2 separate regions of the Homo sapiens genome follow, and region 2 is linked to region 1. Evidence: promoter capture Hi-C in 16 types of primary human blood cells and fetal thymus (Javierre and others, 2016). All regions are on one chromosome and are shown on one strand. The core of a region is centred on a gene start or on the middle of the fragment in contact, and the rest is flanking DNA. Distances in the headings are between cores, read along the strand shown. Region 1 holds the start of ZNF319 (zinc finger protein 319). Region 2 holds the start of ARL2BP (ARF like GTPase 2 binding protein).

What was found. Contacts are between HindIII fragments. The CHiCAGO score rates a contact against its expected background, and 5 or more counts as called.
Region 2: a contact is called between the fragment with the promoter of ARL2BP here and the fragment with the promoter of ZNF319 in region 1, in 2 of 17 cell types (total B cells and neutrophils). The highest score is 5.1, in total B cells.

The regions. Positions count from the first base shown.
Region 1 is chr16:57,999,086-58,002,928 of GRCh38, reverse strand. ZNF319 (zinc finger protein 319) reads left to right here and starts at 2,257. Exons shown (of 2, transcript NM_020807.3): 1 at 2,257-3,436. It overlaps USB1 (U6 snRNA biogenesis phosphodiesterase 1), which reads right to left and starts at 1,522. Exons shown (of 7, transcript NM_024598.4): 1 at 1,348-1,522; 2 at 284-450. The coding sequence starts at 1,445. RefSeq lists enhancers at 1,284-1,383, 1,410-1,704, 1,877-2,046, 2,904-3,173 and silencers at 1,464-1,713, 2,004-2,603, 2,654-2,783. The HindIII fragment of the contact is 9,268 bases long and covers 1-3,843 here.
Region 2 is chr16:57,243,348-57,247,190 of GRCh38, reverse strand. ARL2BP (ARF like GTPase 2 binding protein) reads right to left here and starts at 1,932. Exons shown (of 6, transcript NM_012106.4): 1 at 1,786-1,932; 2 at 1,050-1,111. The coding sequence starts at 1,823. LOC124903697 (a long non-coding RNA gene) reads left to right here. Exons shown (of 2, transcript XR_007065082.1): 2 at 1-1,376. RefSeq lists silencers at 1,534-1,743, 1,834-2,213. The HindIII fragment of the contact is 5,456 bases long and covers 1,047-3,843 here.

The sequences.
Region 1 (3,843 bases), core at 1,008-3,507:
CCTTGACACCCTGCTCCAGATTCTCCTTTGGTCACCTCCTCGTGAACAGGGAGAATATTATACCCAGAGGTAATACACATTTTAGGCTACGAATTCAAAACCAAGATGACAGAAAAATCCCCAGTTCTTGAAACCTGCTCTTTCTCTGCTAAGTCAATGACTTTCCCACCACCAGTGTTAGAGGTTTCTGGTTTCTTCCTTCTAGTTGGGGCCAGATTCTGCCCTTCATGAGGCACCTACGGGTCTATGGGTCTTGGCAACTTGCCTTTCACACATCACTCACATGGTACATAGACGTGGGTGGCCCAGTTGCCTCGCTCGTGGGGGAAGGTGCGCACCCGTCCCCCGTGTTTTGTGCTGTCATCTTCAGGCCCCTCCTCGGTGCCCGGGAACATGTTCAGCACACTGTCAGGTACTGGAAATCTCTGCCTGGGAAGGGGGCTCTGGCCACTGCAAAAGAAAAAAAGAAAAATGAGTACATTTATCCTGTTAGCATTCTCTACCTTTGTATATACCACAAAAGTTGTAACCCCTTATATATGGTGGCTCTGAGTGTGTGTTTCCAGCCTGGTGCTGGAAGCAGCTTCTAGATAGCGAAATTGTTTCTCCAGTATTGTCTCATTGGGGTCTCCAACTCTGGGGCACAAGGTCCCCATGGGAAACAACAGGGCATGCAACAATGTGGTTCAGGGGTCACATTTCCAAGCTGGACAGGCTGCAGCTGGAGTAGCACTTTCTAGCTCTATGACCTTGGGCAAGTCATGTCCCCTTTCTGGGCCTCAAATGCCTCATCTGAAAGTATATGTCTACCTGATAGAGCAATTGTGGGATCAACTGAGCTACTGCTTGTAAAGCACTCAGCAAAGATAAGGCCTAGCATTTAAGAATCTAAGCCCCAGGAAGTAAGGCCGACGGTTTTGTTCACCACTGAATTACCAGACCCCAGCCTGGCAGGGAGTGGGTGCTCAGTGAATATTTACTGGATGAATGAAAAGGCTCTCCCTACGCTTTAGCAAGTATTACTATCGCAATTGTATTCAAATCAGGAAACGGACCTAGGATGGTACAGGGATGTGTGCCAGGCGATAGAGTGGGCCAGCGCGAGGCTGGACCCGAACCCAGGTCTGGCCTCCCAACTTGGCCCTAGCCAGGTGGGGCCACTCTGGAGCTTTGTCTGGGGTGGGGGGGAGGGGTATATCTTCTGGATCCTCCTTTCTTCCTGCGTCCCCTTTTCCTTCCCAGAGCCGCCCCGCATCCTCCCTCCCCACTCCACCCCCAGACATTCGGGTCCCGTCTGGCTCTAGGGTGAATGCGCGCGCCCTCCGGAGAGACTTCCTCACTCCTCACCGACGGTGGCTCCCATCCCCCGGCCTGGTCCGCATCCCGTCCTCGGACTCATCCTCGGAGCCGCTGCTGCTGTAGCCCACCAGGGGCGCCGCGCTCATGGGGCCTCATCCAAGACCACCAGAGCAGGTCCACCAGCAACCTCAACCGGCACCCGGAGTTCCGCTGTGCCGGAAGCGCCCTCCCAGGGGCGGGGCCTGGGCTGGCACCGCCTCGGGGCGGAGCCGGGAGGGGCGGAACCCGGCAGGACAGTGGTGAAGATTCAGCCCACCGACTCCAAGCTGTCTGCCGGCTGCGCACGCGGATCTGGTCACCTGCAGCCTCCCGGCACCCCGCTGGGACCTCCCCAGCCTTCGTGTACCCATTTCATATATCGCTCAGGGCCCTCACCTTTCTGCCCGCTGCTGTCTGCAGCCACCCGGGACCAGACATACCAGACACGACAGTCCCGGGTCAGCGCACTAGACCCAGCGGAGACCCCTGCCTGCCCCGAGCCCGGCCAGGATCAGAGGTCCTGGAGCCCCCTCCTCAAACCAGCCCAAAGTCCAAGCCCCTAAAAGCCAAGCTGAGCAGTTAGGGGCGGATCAATTGTGGCAGACCAGAGCCTCTAGGAGGCCCCTCCTCTCCTGCGCAGAGCCGGGCCGAGGGCGGTCACCCGGAGCCCCCTCCCCTAAGCCCGAGCGGGGTGGCCGGAAGCAGAGCGCCCTTCCTCGGTTAGTCGAGGCGCCCAGGCCTGGCGACTCGAAAACCGCCCGGAGCACCCGGCTTGTCCGACCTGGCCCGGCCACGGGGTCCCCGGCAGGGGGCGGCCTCGCTCCGCGCCGCCCGCTCCTCCCGCATTGGCCGCCGCCGCCCGGGATGCCGCTCCTCCCCCGGCCCCGCCTCCCTGGCCCCCGCGCCGCCCGCCCGTCCGCCCGTCTCCGCAAGGCCATCGGTCCGTCCGCCCGCCCTCCCGGCGCTCCTCGCCCCGGCCCCGCTACTCCGGCAGCGCGCGTCGCTTCCTCCGTTCCGGCCGCCGCTAGCCCGTCCCCCGCCCCCGGTCCGGCCGCAGCCGCTACGCGAGGCCGGGGATTGGCAGCGCGCGTAGGCCGCGCCGCCGCGGATGGAGCCGGAATAAAGGGGCGGCCGAGAGAGCAGCTGGTCGCCGCTCGCCCCGCGCCTGCCCTGCAGGCGGCCTGGAGCAGGTGAGCGGCGGGGCGCCCGGGGCCGCATCTGGGGGCCACCCCCGCGCCCGCCGCACCCCTTCCTCTGCCGGCCCGGCCGCCCCCCCGCGCCCCTCCGCCGCGACCTAGCGGCCTCTTGAGCTTCTGGGCGGCCCAGGCCGGGCCTCGAGGCGCAGCCGCTTCCTGGGCCCGGCCTGTAGCCCTGGGGCCTTTCTCCAGCCCGGCCGCCCTCGGGGCTCGCCCTCGGGTCGCAGCGGCCGGGCCATCCCGGACGAGGGCTGACAGGACGCAGCCCAGCTGGGCCTGCAGGCAGGGCCGGCGGGAGGTGATCGGCTTTCATTCGGTTTCTCAGGGAGGAAGAAGAGACGGGGTGGGGCGCAGGTGGGGGGCCTCCCCTGCCTCTCCTTGCCTCCTCTCTCCCCTTTGCGGAGTGATCACAGAGGCTTCCTGGCTGCACCTTGCTGCAGGAGGGCCAGGGTGGGCAGGGGGTGCTGCAGACCAAGCCAGGGGACACTGTCTGACAGCCATTCATGCCAGAAAAAGCAAACAAAACAGTGGGTTGGCACAGCGGACCTACAGGCGCTCAGAGAAGCCCACCTTCCCCCTCTCTGTCCCGAGAAGGCTTAGAGTGGTACCTGCTTGCTCAAGCAACCTGCTGCCTCCACCCAGAGCAGCCGCTCCTCTCCTCCCTCCCTTCCGGAAGATGCTGAGGATGACAGCTTTTAGCCTGACTCTTACATTTCTTTGGCAGAGCAGTTAGAGGCCAGACTGTCCTGTGAAGGCTTCTCCTTCCTTCTTCCTCTGCTCAGGAGAAAACTTACAAACTTTTAAATGTAAGAGGCAGATGAGCTGGGAACCTGGAAGTGGGTTGCATCTGACTCTGAAAGTTCCTCCCTCTCGCTGGCATTACCTCATGCTGCCACAAAGTGGTGAGTTAGAGATTTGCCTGGGCTGGGTGGGCTTTACCTTCCAACAATTACCCAGAACTTTATAGGCTTGGAGTAAGGGAATGGAGTTGTCTCTAGAGAGGTGATGAGAAATGCTCTGTGGTTAGCATGCTGCATCCTGCATTGCCAAGGCAGACCAGGGCAGTTTCTTACATTTTCCTGCAGGCCTTGACACTATGAGATTCAGAGGATTTAGGACTTTGTGTGTGTGTGTGTGTGTGTGTGTGTGTGTGTGAGTTCTGGGAGAGAACCAGAGTGAGGAAGTTCTGCTGTGTGGACATCAAGCCTGGGTGGTTCTGTGGCCCTCTCATCTAGCCCCCATCACCTATGGGCTCTGGTTCCTGTAGGGCCACCCATCCTGTCACGCGGAGAGAGAATGGGCCTGTGGT
Region 2 (3,843 bases), core at 683-3,182, 760 kb after region 1:
ACATCTATATTCAGGAGTTAAGGGCATGAACCTTTATACCTGAAGGTATAAAAACTTGGTCAGTAATTTTCATTCTAAATGGATTAAGCCATACAGCCAATAACACCAAATAACAGTGTTCTTTTCTCAATTCTCATAAAACTTAAAGTCAACAGAATTTTCTCAAATGTAAGTTTTCCCCTCCTACATACTTGTCTTAAACCTCTGGGGACTGTTACTGCTTCTCTGTTACTTAGCAGGTTTCATGGATGCCCAAATACATCCACAAGTAGGAACTCAAAACCTAGGAAAATACAGAACCAGCTGAAGCTTAATACCTTGTTTTCTTTATGGCCATGTGTGCTTATGGTTATGGTTTTATGTGTTTATTTTCATTTTTATTTTTTCCAGACGGAGTCTCGCTCTGTCGCCCAGGCTGGAGTGAAGTGGCACGATCTCGGATCACTGCAAGCTCCACCTCCCAGGTTCACGCCATTTTCCTGCCTCAGCCTCCTGAGTAGCTGGGACTACAGGCGCCCGCTACCACGCCCGGCTAATTTTTTTTGTATTTTTAGTAGAGACAGGGTTTCACCGTGTTAGCCAGGATGGTCTTGATCTCCTGACCTCGTGATCCGCCCACCTCGGCCTCCCAAAGTGCTGGGATTACAGGCGTTAGCCACCGCACCTGGCCTGGTTTTATGTGTTTTATGGCATGAAAATGTTAAAACTCAAAACTATCTAAAATTGAAATTGCTCTTACCCTACATAAGAAATAGAGTAGATCATTATTTCCTATAGTTTTGCGAAGAACGCCACACTGCTGGTGCCCTATTAGCCTGAGTCAGTCCCTTCCAGCCTCTGAATCTATGCTTATTAGATGTTTTCAGGAGTACTGGGCTGTTTGTTTCTAAGACAAACTGCAGTAAGCCTTTACTTAAGTATTACATTGTGCTACATTAAAAATTGCAGGCAGCTTGATGTTTTCTCTTTTTAAAATTAACTCTCCAAATTGATTTCAATGTCCTTAAAGAAACAAGCAAGTCCTTAAAAACAGTATCTTAAAAGCTTACCCATGATAATGTCCTCTAAATATCCAACCACAGCATCAAATTCTGCATCAGAGGCGGAGGAGCTGAAAAACATGCCTGGATTAGGTGCTATTTCAAATAATGCATTAAAAAAATGTTTTTAGTATGGACGTTTTCAAACATGCACAAGAGAAAAAAGAGTAGCAAAACGAACTTCCCATCACCCATCTTCAACGATTAAGAATGACTGACTGATCTAGTAAGTCCAAACAGAAGAAAACACACTCGGCACGTTTGTGACATGAACGTTCAATGTCATGACTCCACTTTAATAAAAACTTGTTCTCCAGGCTCTTAGCTATCACCCCATACCTGTCTGCTTGTGAGCATGAACCCGGCACGGGCGAAACACCTGCCGGGGGGGGTCATTTGGTCAGGAGTCCGGGAGGCGGGGGCCAGGGAGGGGTGGAGGGGCCTCGGGCGCTCAACCCCTCCAGGCTTTGCTGACAGCTGAGGGTTGGCGGCTGGGGATTGTGATGGAGGCGCTGATCAACGGTGACACCCGCCTCGCACTCCTGTCCTGCGGGGCCTGAAACCTGCAGCCTTAGTACTCTACAAAAGGAAGGCCTGGAGCTGGGACGGCGCCTTGGCGGCCCCCACCCTGCCCGGCCCGGCCCGGCCCGGCCCCTAAGGACACCTGTTTTATAGGGTCAGGCCCCGGGGCGAACGCCCGCTGCCTCCGGCCCCAAGTCGCCTGCGCCCTGGAGGAGCTACTCACAAAGACAGCGCAAAGCTCTCTCCTTCTAAGGCGTCCATCGCAGTCGCCCCGAGTAGGCTCCAACCCCGCCCGCGGCCCAACTCGCATGCAGGGCGCGGCCGCCCGGCGGGGTTAAGGCCTCTCAGCCAAGGCCGCGGCCAGCTCACTGCCAGGTCGGGTCAGCGCCTGCGCGCCAGGTCCGGCCTTGGATACCCTCTGCCGCCACGCGTCGGTCCGGCCTCTACGCCCGCCTGGCCCTCTGCGCGCGCCGCCGACGCCGCAGGTCCGGGCCTCGGTGACTGCCGGAGGGGCGCGGCGCCCCGCCTCCTGTCACCATGGCCACCGCAACCCCTTCCACCGCCTCACGGCCGGCCGGCATCCAATCACAGGCGAGCGTTACCGATGCCGGGGCGGGGCAAGACAGGGAGAGGAAGTCCCGGAAGGGAGTGCGGAGGGATGCGGCGCTTCGGCGAGCACCCGTTGTGTGGGAACTCCGTCTCAAGTCGCCCCCATTGTACGGATGAAGGAATCGAAGCCACGAGCCAGAATTTCCTCACTCGCAACTCGAGAATAAATTGCGCCTCCCTGAGTGTGGAGGATTAAATAAGTAGTTTAAGGCGTGTTTAAAGAGCGCTTGTAAGTTGCCAAGTCGCTGGAGAGCCAGTCCCTTATCCCTTGAACCAGGTGATGCTGACGTCTGATTTCAAGACAGTTCCTACCCCTCGTGGAAGGAAAGCCCCATCGCAAGAAGTCGATGTCCTGTAATTTACGTTATAATCTTCGCATCATAAAGATTACTCGGCAGTAATTGGTTTCTTGACTAATTATACAAGATGAGAATTGAAGAACTATTTTGAGCCACGCAATCAGGAATCAGATACCTTTCAGGAAAAGGCCTCTTCAAAACTGCCAAACTTTGAAAAAGGATTCGTTTGAGCTGATTTCTCTTGATTGGACAACTAAGCATTGTGTCTCTTTAGTTGCATGATACCTTATGGCCAAAGTGTGGTATATGACTAGAGGAACTAGAGGGGTTTAAGGTATGAACTGAGGGTCAGGTGGCCAGTCAGAATGGGTTAGCAGACATTTTTTATTTTTTTGAGACGGAGTCTTGCTCTGTCGCCCAGGCTGGAGGGCAGTGGCACGATCTCGGCTGGCTACAACTTCCGCCTCCCAGGTTCAAGCGATTCTCGTGCCTCAGCCTCCCGAGTAGCTAGGATTACAAGTACGTGCCACTATGCCCGGCTATTTTTGAATTTTTAGTAGAGACAGGGTTTCACCATGTTGGCCAGGCTGGTCTCGAACTCCTGACCTCAGATGATCCACCTACCTTGGCCTCCAAAAGGGCTAGGATTACAGGTGTGAGCCACCACAACCGGCCTAGCAGACATCTTTGAATGGACTTAAAATAGATATCCGTGGGATCTGAAACAAAGATGGTTACAAAGACACAGTCGGGTGTGACAGCTGTGACCAAGGTGACATAAATTATTACTAATTTATTTATTTATTGAGATGGAGTTTCGCTCTTACTGCCCGGGCTAGAGTGCAATGGTGCAATCTCGGCTCAACACAACCTCCGCCTACCGGTTTCAAGCGATTCTCCTGCCTCAGCCTCCCGCGTAGCTAGGATTACAGTCATGCGCCACCATGCCTAATTTTTTTGTGTTTTTAGTAGAGATGGGGTTTCTCTATGTTGGTCAGGCTGGTCTTGAACTCCCGACCTCAGGTGATCCGCCCGCCTTGGCCTCCCAAAGTGCTGGGATTACAGGCGTGAGCCACTGCGCTCGGCCTATTTATTTTTTGAGAGGGAGTCTTGCTCTGTTGCCCAGGCTGGAGTGCAGTGGCGCAATCTCGGCTCACTGCAATCTCTGCCTCCCGGGTTTAAGGGATTCTCCTGCCTCAGCCTCCTAAGTAGCTGGGATTACAGGCGCGTGCCACCACACCCGGCTAATTTTTGTATTTTTAGTAGAGACAGGGCTTCACCATGTTGGCCAGCGTGGTCTCGAACTCCTGACCTCTGGTGGTCTGCCCGCCTCGGCCTCCCAAAGTGTTGGGATTACAGGCGTGAGCCACCGC